Linked DNA regions of Homo sapiens: all the other regions are linked to region 3. The links are contacts of gene promoters, found by promoter capture Hi-C in blood cells and fetal thymus (Javierre and others, 2016). All regions are on one chromosome and are shown on one strand. Each heading gives the region's core, a stretch centred on a gene start or on the middle of the fragment in contact. The rest is flanking DNA. Distances are from core to core; before and after follow the strand shown. Region 1 has its middle 48 kb from the start of FAM76B. Region 2 has its middle 31 kb from the start of FAM76B. Region 3 holds the start of KDM4E (lysine demethylase 4E).

Region 1 (3,957 bases), core at 1,452-3,951, 720 kb before region 3:
CACAGCTAACATCCTGCTTAATGATAAAAGATTCAATTTTAAGGCTGAGAGTATAACAAGTATGTCTGTTTTTACCACTTCTATTTAACATTACAAGGGTCCTAGACCACGGTTCTAATTCATGCAAAAACCAACGCAAAGAATAAAAGGTATACAAATTAGAAAGGAAGAAGTGAAGCTGTCTGTATTCACATATGACATGATCATGTATCCACAAAACTAAGGAATTTAAAAGACAGCTACTAGAATTAACAAAGGGATTTATCAAGGTCACAGGATACAAAGCAATAGACAAAAAAAATGTATTTGTATGTACTAGCAATGAATCACTGAAAATGCAATAAAAGTGATTGCATTTAGCCTAGCATAAAAGATAAAATAATTAGAGATAAATTTAACAAAAGGTATTAAGAATGTACACTGTAAAACCTTAAAACTACAAAACCTTGCTTAGAGAAATGAAAGAATGCCAAATAAATGGTAAGATATACCATGTTCACTGATTGGATCACTCCATATTGCTAAGATGTCAATTCCCGCTAACTTGATGTAGAGTTTTACCTCAGTTGCAGCATGATTTTTTTTTTTTAGAATTGTCAATTGATTCAAAAATTTATATGGAAATGCAAAGAACGTAGAATGACGAAAACAATTTTGAAAAACAAGAACAATATTGGAGGATTTATACTACCTTCTTTTAAAATTTATAAAAGCTAAAATAATAAACACAATGTAATATTCATGTAAGGATAGACAAATAAATCAATGAACAGAAGATGGTGTGTGTGTGCTTTTGTGTAGAATTGCCTTTCACGCAGTATTTTCCACAAATGATGCTAGAACAACTGGGTTATCCATTAAAAAAAATGAACACCACACACACCTTACTTCATACTCTTTTTACATAGTAATTTGACATGGCTTATAGGCCTAAACATAATGCTAAACTTATGACATTTTTTGAAGAAAAATATCAGAAAATATTTGTGACTTTGCGTTGGCATGGATGTTTTAGGCACAGAGAAAGCATGGAATATGAAGAAAAAATGGAAAAATAGAACGTTATCATAATTAAAATATTCTGCTCATAAGACCATTAAGAGAATGGAAAGGCAAATACAAACTGGGAGAAAATATTTTCAAAGTATATCTGACAAAGGATTTGTATATAAACATAAAAGAACCTTAGGATTCAATGAGAAGATAAAAAAATCCCAAGTAGAAAATGGGCAAAAGATTTCAACAGATTCACCATGAAAGAAGATATGCAAATGGCCAATAAGCACATGAAAAGATGCTGAACATCACTAATCATCAGGGAGTGCAAATTAAAACACAATGAGGGCCTGGCGCGGTGGCTCACGCCTGTAATCCCAGCACTTTGGGAGGCCGAGGCGGGCGGATCACGAGGTCAGGAGATCGAGAACATACTGGCTAACACGGTGAAACCCCGTCTCTACTAAAAATACAAAAAAATTAGCTGGGCATGGTAGCGGGCGCCTGTAGTCCCAGCTACTCGGGAGGCTGAGGTGGGAGAACGGCGTGAATTCAGGAGGCGGAGCTTGCAGTGAGCCAAGATCGCGCCACTGCACTCCAGCCTGGGCGACAGAGCAAGACTCCGTCTCAAAAAAAAAAAAAAAAAAAAAACCACAATGAGATACAATCACGGATTCACTAGAATTACTAAAATTAAAGAGATTGACAATACGAAGTATTTACAAAATGTGGAGCTACTGTAACTCATAAATTAGTTATGAGAATATAAAATGATAGAACACTTTGGAAAACAGTCTGGCATATTCTTATAAAGTTAAAATACAATTATCATAGGACCAGCAATGCTGTTTAGGAATCTACACAGGAGAAAGAGAGCATATGTCCACATAAAAAATTTTACATGAATGTTCATAGCAGCTTTATTCATAACAGCCAAAAAAAAAAAAAAAAAAGCAAACAACTCAAATGTCTATGACTAGGTTGATAAATAAACAAATTATAGTATATTCACACACTGGATTACTACTTAGCAATAAAAAAGAGCAAAGTACTTAAACATGTAACACATAAATGACTCAAAAATAAACTGAATGAAAGAAAATACACAAAAGCAAACGTACGAAATTTTAGCAAAGACAAAAACTCAACTAAAGTGACAGATAAGTGGTTGCTTGGGGACTAGGGTGGCGATAATTTGCTACCAAGGGGACAAGGGAACTTTTTGGGATGATGGAAATGTATTGATGACTGTGGTAGTTATAGAGGTTATACATTTGTCAAATCTCATTCACATATAAATATAAGAAATAGGTGCACTTTATTGTGTATAATTCATACCTTAAGTTGATTTGAAAGACCACGACAATGCATGACTCCCTGACAGGACCGCTGGTCAGCTAGCAGCAACCATTTTACTAGTCATATAAGTTTATGTTACACTGATTCACTATTTAGGTTAGGAGGAGAATATAGCTCCTTTGGTACAGCGATGGGGGCTTTGCCTGGCTAGAATTTATCATGCCCTTTGAGCAGTGGGTGATGTGATGAGATATCCCCAGGATGAAGAAAAGGGAAGGCAAAAGTGCAAAAGTCTGTCATATGGTAACTAATATTCTTGACCAGACAACACTTCTATAGGTCCCAGAGAAATCTGAGTAGAGGGAAAGGCCAGACAAATATATGCTATCCCTTGTCAGGATTTTAGCTCCTCATGCTGCATTTACATTGTGAGAAGTGAGTTTTAAGAGATACCAAAAGGGAACAAAGCATTAAGAAAGAACAATTTAGGCTGGGTGCAGTGGCTCATGCCTGTAATCCCAGTACTTTGGGAGGCCGAGGCAGGCAGGTCACCTGAGGTCGCGAGTTCGAGACCAGCCTGAGCAACATGGTGAAACCCCATCTCTACTAAAAACACAAAAGTTAGCCGGGTGTGGTGGTGCATGCCTGTAGTCCCAGCTACTTGGGAGGCTGAGGCAGGAGAATCGCTTGAACCTGGGAGGCAGAGGTTGCAGTGAGCCGAGATCATGCCATTGCACTCCAGCGTGGGCAACAAAGGCGAAGCTCTGTCTCAAAAAAAAAAAAAAAAAAAAAAGAAAGAAAGAAAGAAAGAACAATTTTCATGGGAGCAAGGGTGCATAAACTCCTTAGTGTTCTACTCCCAACCTTTCAACAGTAATAGCCCAGGCTTATATTGTGTTCATTGTGTACTACACATTTCTTTCATATATATATATATATATATATATATATATATATAGTATATGTCATATATAAAGACACATGCTGCATACAGATATTTGTGTGTGTGCACACACATATATATTTTATATATATAGTTATGCATCATTTAATGATGAAAATGTCCTTTGAGAAATGGATTATTAGGCACATTTATCATTATGTGAATATCATAGAGTGTACTTACACAAACCTAGATAGTAATAGCCTACTGCACATCTAGGCTATATGGTGGTCCAGCCTATTGTTGCTGCTTGGCTACAAACCTGTACAGCATGCTGCTAAACTGAATGCTGTAGGCAATTGTAACATAATGGTAAGTATTTGTGTATCTAGACATACCTAAACATAGAAAAAATACAGTAAAAATACAGCGCAAGAGATAAAATAATGGTATATCTGTATAGGGCAGCTCCATTATAATCTTGTGGGACCATAATTGCATATGCAGTCTGTTGTTGGCAGAAGCATTGTTATGTGATGCATAGCTGCATATAATTTATTCCTATCTCATGACAACCTTGATTATCACTCCTATCTGACAGTTTGGTCATTGAGACACAGAAAGAATAACTAGCTTGCCCAAAGTCACACAGCTACTAAGAGACAGACCTAAGATTTAAACCTGTAGATTATGGTGCTTTCCACAATTCTGCCAGTTGTGCTCTTAAGGTATCAGCACTTCAGAACGATTCCCCTCACAGGTAGAATCAAGCAAAGAGA
Region 2 (4,346 bases), core at 1,701-4,200, 730 kb before region 3:
TATTCATAAGTATTTAATATATGTTTCTAAACAAAAATATTATTTCTAAAAATATAATCTTAATTTCATTATCTCATATAATTTCTTAATATCAATTATCAGTGTTCAAACTTTCTTAAGAGACCATGTTTTAGTTTGTTAAATTAAGATCTATATAAGATCCACCAGACATTTTTCATGTCATTTAAATATCTTTTCATCTCTAATTTCTCCTTCCATTTCTCCTTCCACACCCCACATCTCGGGGATAAGAATCTTTTTTTTTTTTTGACAGGGATGCCTGTCTGTCACCCAGGCTGGAGTGCAGTGGTATAATCACGGCTCACTGCAGCCACAAACTCCTAGGCTAAAATGATCCTCCTGCCTCAGCTCCTGAGTAGCTAGAACTATAGGTGCACACCACCATGCTTGGCTAATTAAAAAAAAAAATCCTGTAGAGACGGGGTCTTGCTTTGTTGCTCAAGCTGGTCTCAAACTCTTGGCCTCAAACAAGTAACACAAGCACAATCATCTAAAAATGCTGATGAACAGAAATGAGCATTTGAAAGGGAAAAAATAAAAACTACTCAAAGAACTACACACATATGGGGAAAAAGAGACTTTCTATACCTAAAAAGGAGGACTTCTCCACCGAACATTTCAGTAAATGGAGAGAATAGTCATTGCTGAAATTGGAATAGTGGCCTGGAAAAATAATAACAAGAAATATAACACAAATGCAAAGTAGATGTGATGAGAAAATATACATACATATATATTTGTCAGATAGATCCAGGAGTCCAGACATGCAAAGTAATAATAATCTTAAAAGGAGTTCTAAAAGAAAACATTAAAAAGGAGTAGAAGGATTGGAGGCATTAATTATAGTAGAAAACATCCCAAAGCTGATGAAAGGCTTGTCTGCATATTAGATGGACTCAATGTTTCTAATAGAATCGATTTTTTTTTTAACTCTAAAGCTTATGATAAAAATCTGATAAGCTTCCAGGCAGAAAAAATCGGTTTCCTGTAAAGGAAAAGGAATCAGACTTCTCATCTGTAACACCAGAAGTGGCAGTGAACTAACATCCCACAAACTACTTAGAGAAAAAGACCTGCCACCTCAGAATTCTATACCAGCGAAGTATCATTCTCCTGACAAGATAAAAGAACGTGAATTTTTGATATGGGTATAATCAGAGAATATATCACCCAAGTTGTCTATATGAAGAAAGTAATCTAGAAAGGACACCAAGCAAGGGAACTAGAAAAGAAAACTTCATTGTAGAGATGTAGTGGACAGGAAAAGTGGTGAACAACAAAGCTTGTAAGATATATTTATCTTTAAATCTAAACAGTGAGTATCAGCCTAGGATTGTTTAAGATCAGGAAGTGTTAAATATGGAGTCTTCAAAAAGGAGGGACATATCAATAGTTTTTAACGATCTCAGCCAAATCTGTTAGAGGTAAGAGAGTGGACTAGATTATTCCGTCCATGAAGTTTTGTGGTGGGGGGAAAGCAGTCCCCCACAAAACCATATTTTAAAGGTTTAAACTGACTGGGATGAGGGGAAAATAGAAGACTAGAACCCCTGAGGTGGGAGAAATAGATGGTATGATTTCTTCAAACGAAATAAGAAAACATGAATGTGATCATGAGGGCAGGAAAGGACAGGCAATCATTAATGGAATAAAAAGGGGCTAGAATATTCAAAATATCAGTGGAAAACTAGACTGGAAACTGTTTGATCAAACCAGCAAAAATCAGGAAGAGGAAACATGATTGAAAAATAACGACAGGAAGGGAGAAGCGGCAAGTAATGTAGAGTGTCTGGAGAGAAACGGAAGACAAAAACAAAGACTGAAGATGGTGCTGTAAGAATCTAGCAAGAGGCCGGGTGCGGAGGCTCACGTCTGTAATCCCAGCACTTTGGGAGGCCGAGGTGGGTGGATCACCTGAGGTCAAGGGCTCGAGACAGCCTGGCTAAAATATAGTGAAACCCTGTCTCTACTAAAAAAATACAAAAATTAGCTGGGCGTGGTGTCGGGCACCTGTAACCCCAGCTACTTGGGAAGCTGAGGCAGGAGAATAGCTTGAACCCGGGAGGCAGAGGTTGCAGTGAGCAGAGATGGAGCCACTGCACTCCAGCCTGGGCAACAGAGCAAGACTCTGTCTCTCAAAAAAAAAAAAAAAAAAAAAAAAGAATTTAGCAAGAATATAATCATATACACATGTAAAAGTTAGATGGGTGTGCATTTTTCAAAAGTACTGCTCAAGAGCTTTTTAGTTTTAGAAAAAAACCTTCACCTTATGTAAATAAAAATAAGTATACAATAATAATAAACTTTAGCATGGATATACAAAATAAAAGTATAATAACAACTGATGCATCCTGAATTGCAGAGAAAAGAGTAATTTCAGGAAGATCATTTCTTCTGATCACTAAAGTTTAGTTAAAAGTAAAAAAACATAGACCTGCCGGGTGTGGTGGCTCACACCTATAATCCCAGCACTTTGGGAGGCTGAGGCAAGAGGATCGCTTGAGCCCAGGAGTTTGAGACCAGCCTGTGCAATATGGTGAAACTGCGTCTCTACAAAAAATACAAAAAAAAAAAAAAATTAGCCAGCTGTGGTGGTGCACGCCTGTGGTCCCAGCAACTTGGGAGGGTGAGGTGGGAGGATTGCTTGAGCCCAAGTGGTTGAGGCTCCAATGAGCCAAGATGGCACAATTGCACTCCAACCTGGGTGGCAGAGCAAGACCTGTCAAAAAAAAAAATTAAACCAGTTTTTGACGAAAAAAAGAAAAACTCGCCCCACAACCGCCAAAACAAACAAACAAACAAAAAACCAAACTCAGAAAACACTTTCTGGCATTTTTAAGTGGTGGTTGCAGAAAAGAATTTAACTTTTCCTTAACTCAAGGACAAATACCTAACATGAGACTTAGGATAGTGTTGCATACAGAGGCCACAAAGTGTGATAGCTAAGAACTGATACTTCAAGTTAGATCCTGGTTCAAACTCAGACTTGGCCACTGTCTGGCTGTATAACACTGGGTAAGTTACTCAAGCCCTCTGAGCTTCAGTTTCCTCATTGCTAAAATGGAGGTATATCACATGACGGATGTCAAGTTTAAATAAGGCATGCAAAATGCTGATCTCATGGCTTAGCACATGGCAAGTGTTCAGTAAATGGGCCATTATTACTTTCTATAAAAGCAAATGTATGGGGGCTCCCCTGGGAGATGCTGGTATGTCCTGAAGGCCCCCCACAGTGGGGCACCCTGGACCTCTTAGCAGGAGAAGCCACTTGGAGGAAGCTCAGAGGGAAGGGAACACATGGCCCATGTTTGAGAATGCCAAGGGTGTCGGGAACATGGTGTTGAGGTTCCTTGGAGCCTTTTCCACCCCAGGCAGATGTACTTGAAAGGCAACACTCTCCCTACACAGGAGGATAAACTGAGGTGGGAAGTGGACAGGGGGAGCCTTGGAAGGAGAGTCAGATCAGATAGGCTTCTGTTCCTCACCTCTATATGGCCTTCACGTGCCAGAGGCCCTCTATTGGACTTGGGCTCAGTGGATGGACAAGAAGCTGCTGGCCATGCTGGCCACCCAACCTGTTTGCTTCTGATGTCCCACCACCAGCAATTCTACTCTCTCCATTTCCTGGCTGAGGACCCACAAGGAGTTCCATGGAGAGCCTCATATCAGTGTATCCAGTTGCAGCACCAGCAATGGAGCCTGGTCATGGAGAGTATGGTGGAGAATAAGTTTGGCAGCATCCTGCAGATATACACACTGGACATGCTGGATGAGGGCTACAGAGAGGGGCAGGCAGACGGGCAGCCTTCCAGTCCCCATCTGCCCCCACAGAGTGCTCTCCTCACTGACTAATTCCGCATGCATGGCTGCTGCCCAATCAGACAGTGGTGCTGGGCAGTGAAGTGGAGTCCCACTGCAAGGTGTACAGCAGCTTAGCACTTGGAGGTGAACAGCAGCAATGTGGACCCTGCTGGCATAACATACCTCACCATGCTCAAGGTGGGTGCCACTGCTGGCTAAGTGCAAGGGGTGGGTGGGCTGGGGTGACACTTCACTGAAATCTACCAGCATTATAGAAGTTTTGGAATAGCCTATGAAAGAGAAACTATGGTACCAGCCAGCAGACAAAATCCTCTGCAGTGAGCAATTCTGGACATGAACTTGCTGCTGGTTCGCAGCATCTGCCATGAACTGCAGTCTAAAATTAGATGCAGTTTTTCCTAAAGTAAGAATATGTGTGTCAGTCAATAAAAATGGGAATCACCCCTATGACTTCTGTCCCTCATAATCCTGCTTCTCCCTCTGTAACTTTGTGCTCTCTGAAT
Region 3 (4,298 bases), core at 1,606-4,105:
TACATTAGAGACAGCAAATTTAGTTAACATCAGTATAGTTACAAAATACCTCTGAAGCCATAACTGGCTAAGTAACTCAGTTGGTCAAAAGGTCTAGTTTGTACATGAGCAGTGGACGGTGGCCTAGGATAAAGGGCATGTTGCAATTGAAGGATTGTGGGAAGCCCTGAACCTCACTGGGGTTGTAGCAATGTCCAGTGGAATCCAGAGTCAGAGACATAGAGGACCAGATGAGAAGTAAAAATGAGAGGCTCAGTAAGATTCTCAGCATCATCCAGTGTGGGCCCAAATTACCATGGAATCTGGACCCATAGCACTATAAGGGAGGTATCCTAAGGGGGACATCAGAAACAAGTGCTGTCCATGGCATCTGGCCATGGTGAAGGCCACAGGCAAATATGTGGAGTAGACAGAGAATCCCTGAGAGGTACTACAACATCCTATGGCAACCTTTGGGGAGGGGACTTCAGTGGCCTCTGGGAGCCCTGGTTGTCACAGTTGGAGACAGCATCTGGGGGCCTTGGAAATGTGTCAGTTACTGCAGGTAAAGAATCTTCTCTGATCCTGGGGTTGGAATAAGAGAGACACTGACATTTGTCACCATATTCCATAGCCGTGGATCCAGAGGATTGATCATGTATTGGAGGAAAATATCCCTAAACTCAGTGTCTTTAGACCCAGCAGATGAGTCAGGAGCCCAGGAGATTCTGGAAAACTTAGTTGGAGTCAGAACCCTAGAGCCGTAAAAGTGGTCCATTGCTACAGCCTTGCCCATGTTCACCAGGCAAGTGTCCCTGGTGAACTTAATCAGTTCCAGTCCCCACCAGTGTCCCTGGAAAACTTAATCAAAGGCACAATGACATTGGGAGGAGTCATGCAGACAACATCAGGGAGATTACTAGTAGTGCTGTTGAGGGATAGCAGGCACAGGCCAGGGTGCATGGTTTCATCACGATCCAGTGGGGGCCCCAGGAGTTGAAGATCAGGGACACAGCAGCAGCCAGAAGCCTTGGCAAGATGCTGAAGGCCACCACTCAAAGGGACAGATTTGTCATCAAATCATTGGCAAGCGGGAGCTGAGGCCTGTGGCCTTGAGCTCTACTCCTTGTACCCATTAAAAGGCGCCTCTTGGATGCAGGCTGAACAGTTGGCTCCTCAGTCCCCAGTTCTCGAGTACAACAACCATGACCACGACCACGACTGCAACCTCGACCTTGACCTTGACCACGACCACGACCACGACCAGAACCCCAGCTTCCAGTGGAAGGGAGAAGAACCCTGGCTGACATCCCCAGGGTAAGTGACTGGGTCTGGGTATGATATGCAGAGCTTTGGAATGCGGATCCAGGCACAGCATCAGTGCCACAGCCTTTTGGGTTGTAACAGTGCCCTGAGGACACAGGCTGTGTGGGACACTGGGCTGTGAGGTTTGGGAGAAGCCTCAGGCCCAGAGCAGCTCTTCTAAGTACTATATCATCTCTCCAGTTGCTCAGCTCTTGGCTTTCTGCAACCCTGGGCTCTGTGTGTTCCACAATGGCCAAGTCTTGCCTGTGTTTCCAGAGCTCATAACTCTCGGGTTGCACAATGCGCACAAAGGGGTCCATGGAAAAGGTCACTGTCGACTCCCCACAGCTACACTGAGAGGCCATTTTGCCATAATCAATCCATCGTGGAGTGGCAAAATTAATGGCTTCTGCGCAGTTGAAGCCGTGATTGAAGCCAGCATGGTAGCCATAGGGAAAGGTCACCATGAACTCCCCAGCCTCCTGAGTCATGCAATTGAAGGGAATCCCATTTTCCTTGAGAACTGTAGGCGAGATGAGGGCCACTTTGTGCCGCAGGAAGGCCTCACAGCCCCGAGAAATGTCTGGGAAGAGCTCCCTGGCCAGGCGTTCCAGGTGCTGACCATGTTCTGGGGGCACCACGTACCAAGTTTTGGGCTCCCCAAAGTGCAGGTAGTTGATGCTGTAAAGGTCCATGTCCTCTGTGTGCCAGGCAAACGTGGTCTTCCACATGCCAAAGTACAGGTAGGGTGTGTTGACACCCTCGATGACAACCCCACATTCCTGCTCCAACAGGTCCAGAATTGTTCCCAGGTGTCCTAGGTTCCATTGTTTAGTGCTTTCTTCAAATAAGGAGCCGCTGATATCAGCACCATAAATTGGTGGATTACCGGGGTGGCTCTTCCAGTATCGTTGCTCCAAATCTGCAAAATTCTGGTGTGGCGGAGTCTGATATTTTTTACTGTTTGCCAAGCGGCGATACTGCCCCACCCTCATGGCTTTCTTCTTTTTATGGTATTGAGTAAACACACCTCCCTGCCCAGAGGTCACCTGCTGGAGGGGAGTGGCTATTAAGATGTCTTCGATATCATCATACATCTGTCTGGCTTTCCATTCCTTGGGTGGAATTACCTTGGCAAGGCCAGCTTGATGTGCGCCTTGGGACTCCATGTAAGCAACATATGTGTTGAAATCTGCAAATTCTTCCATGGTTGGGTAAAACGTCATGATGGTATGACTCGTGTTCTGGGGACTGGAGTGCACAGACTTCATGGCTGCACACAAGAAGCAGCTGACTCCCACGTTCTTGGGTGTCCTCTAGATGCCTGAGAGTTCTGGGGAGTAATTTCTTTTCTCCCCTTTGTTTTTCAAAATACTTTGGTTTATCTGTGAGACAGTAATTCACACTTGGACTTTTGAACAAGTGAGATCTTTCACAGGCTTTCTGACTCCCCAGGGGGACTCCACTCTAGTCAGTATACTTTTTTCTGAAGAAGTAGAGTATGTCCCAGCTCTGTGAGTTTCCTCAGTTGGGGGTGTCACTGTGAGGCTTCTCCTGATTCTCAGGCTTGGGTGCACTAGTAGCAGCTAGTGTCCCACTGTACCTGGGGGTCTCTTCTAGGAAGTCGAAACAATACACCTAAACAACAACAACAAAAGATACAGAATATTCATATTTTTTAAATAAGTATATAACCAGACAAAAGAAATATTCAGCTAGCATTAAGCTAAGCTAAAACATATGCTAACATCAGGATATGTAAACATTGTCAGGCCTCTGAGCCCAAGCTAAGCCATCATATCCCCAGTGACCTGCACATACACATCCAGATGGCCTGAAGCAACTGAAGATCCACAAAAGAAGTGAAAATAGCCTTAACTGATGACATTCCACCATTGTGATTTGTTTCTGCCCCACCCTAACTGATCAATGTACTTTGTAATCTCCCCCACCCTTACGAAGTTTCTTTATAATCTCCCCCACCCTTAAGAAGTTTCTTTGTAATTCCCCCCACCCTCGAGAATGTACTTTGTGAGATCCACCCCCTGCCCCCAAAACATTGCTCTTAACTCCACCACCTATCCCAAAACCTGTAAGAACTAATGATAATCCCACCACCCTTTGCTGACTCTCTTTTTGGACTTAGCCCGCCTGCACCCAGGAGAAATAAACAGCCTTGTTGCTCACACAAAGCCTCTTTGGGGGTCTCTTGACACGGACACGTGAGACATTTCGTGCCGAAGACCTGGGTCAGCGGGACTCCTTCGGGAGACCAGTCCCCTGTCCTCACCCTCACTCTGTGAAAAGATCCACATACGACCTCCAGTCCTCAGACCAACCAGCCCAAGGAACATCTCACTGATTTTAAATCAGGCAAGCAGCTCTTTTTACTGTCTTCTCCAACCTCTCTCACTATCCCTCAACCTCTTTCTTCTTTCAATCTTGGCGCCACCCTTCAATCTCTTTCTTCTCTTAATTTCAATTCCTTTTATTTTCTGGTAGAGACAAAGGAGACACATTTTATCCCTGGACCCAAAACTCCGGCGCTGGTCACGGACTCGGGAAGGCAGCCTTCCCTTGGTGTTTAATCATTGTGGGGATGTGTCTCTGATTATTCACCCATGTTCCATTGGTGTCTGATCTCCGCATTCACCCACATTATCATTCACCCACATTCCCTTGATGGGCAAATCAACTGTGGGGACAGCTGCTTTGGCTGCTCCCCTACGTTGCAGCTCAGGGCTGCTCCCCACCCCCCTTCTCTGTGTCTCTACCCTTATTTTTTAAACTTGCCTCCTTCACTATGGGCAACCTTCCACCCTCCATTCCTCCTTCTTCTCCCTTAGCCTGTGTTCTCAAGAACTTAAAACCTCTTCAACTCTCACCTGACCCAAAATCTAAGCATCTTATTTTCTTCTGCAACACCACCTGGCCCCAGTACAAACTCGACAATGGTTCTAAATGGCCAGAAAATGGCACTTTTGATTTCTCCATCCTACGAGACCTAGACAATT

Evidence for each region. Contacts are between HindIII fragments. The CHiCAGO score rates a contact against its expected background, and 5 or more counts as called.
Region 1: a fragment that was not itself captured here is called in contact with the fragment with the promoter of KDM4E in region 3 in 6 of 17 cell types (M2 macrophages, neutrophils, monocytes and 3 more); the score reaches 6.8 in M2 macrophages.
Region 2: a fragment that was not itself captured here is called in contact with the fragment with the promoter of KDM4E in region 3 in 4 of 17 cell types (M2 macrophages, total CD4 T cells, fetal thymus and 1 more); the score reaches 6.6 in M2 macrophages.

Annotation. Positions count from the first base shown.
Region 1 is chr11:95,740,128-95,744,084 of GRCh38, reverse strand. No RefSeq gene overlaps it. Among named protein-coding and RNA genes, the nearest start is that of FAM76B, 48 kb to the left of the region's middle. The HindIII fragment of the contact is 8,213 bases long and covers 1-3,957 here.
Region 2 is chr11:95,756,631-95,760,976 of GRCh38, reverse strand. It overlaps the pseudogene FGFR3P2. Among named protein-coding and RNA genes, the nearest start is that of FAM76B, 31 kb to the left of the region's middle. The HindIII fragment of the contact is 3,289 bases long and covers 1,306-4,346 here.
Region 3 is chr11:95,023,815-95,028,112 of GRCh38, reverse strand. It overlaps KDM4E (lysine demethylase 4E), which reads right to left and starts at 2,855. Exons shown (of 1, transcript NM_001161630.1): 1 at 517-2,855. The coding sequence starts at 2,555. The coding sequence ends at 1,035. The HindIII fragment of the contact is 8,893 bases long and covers 1-4,298 here.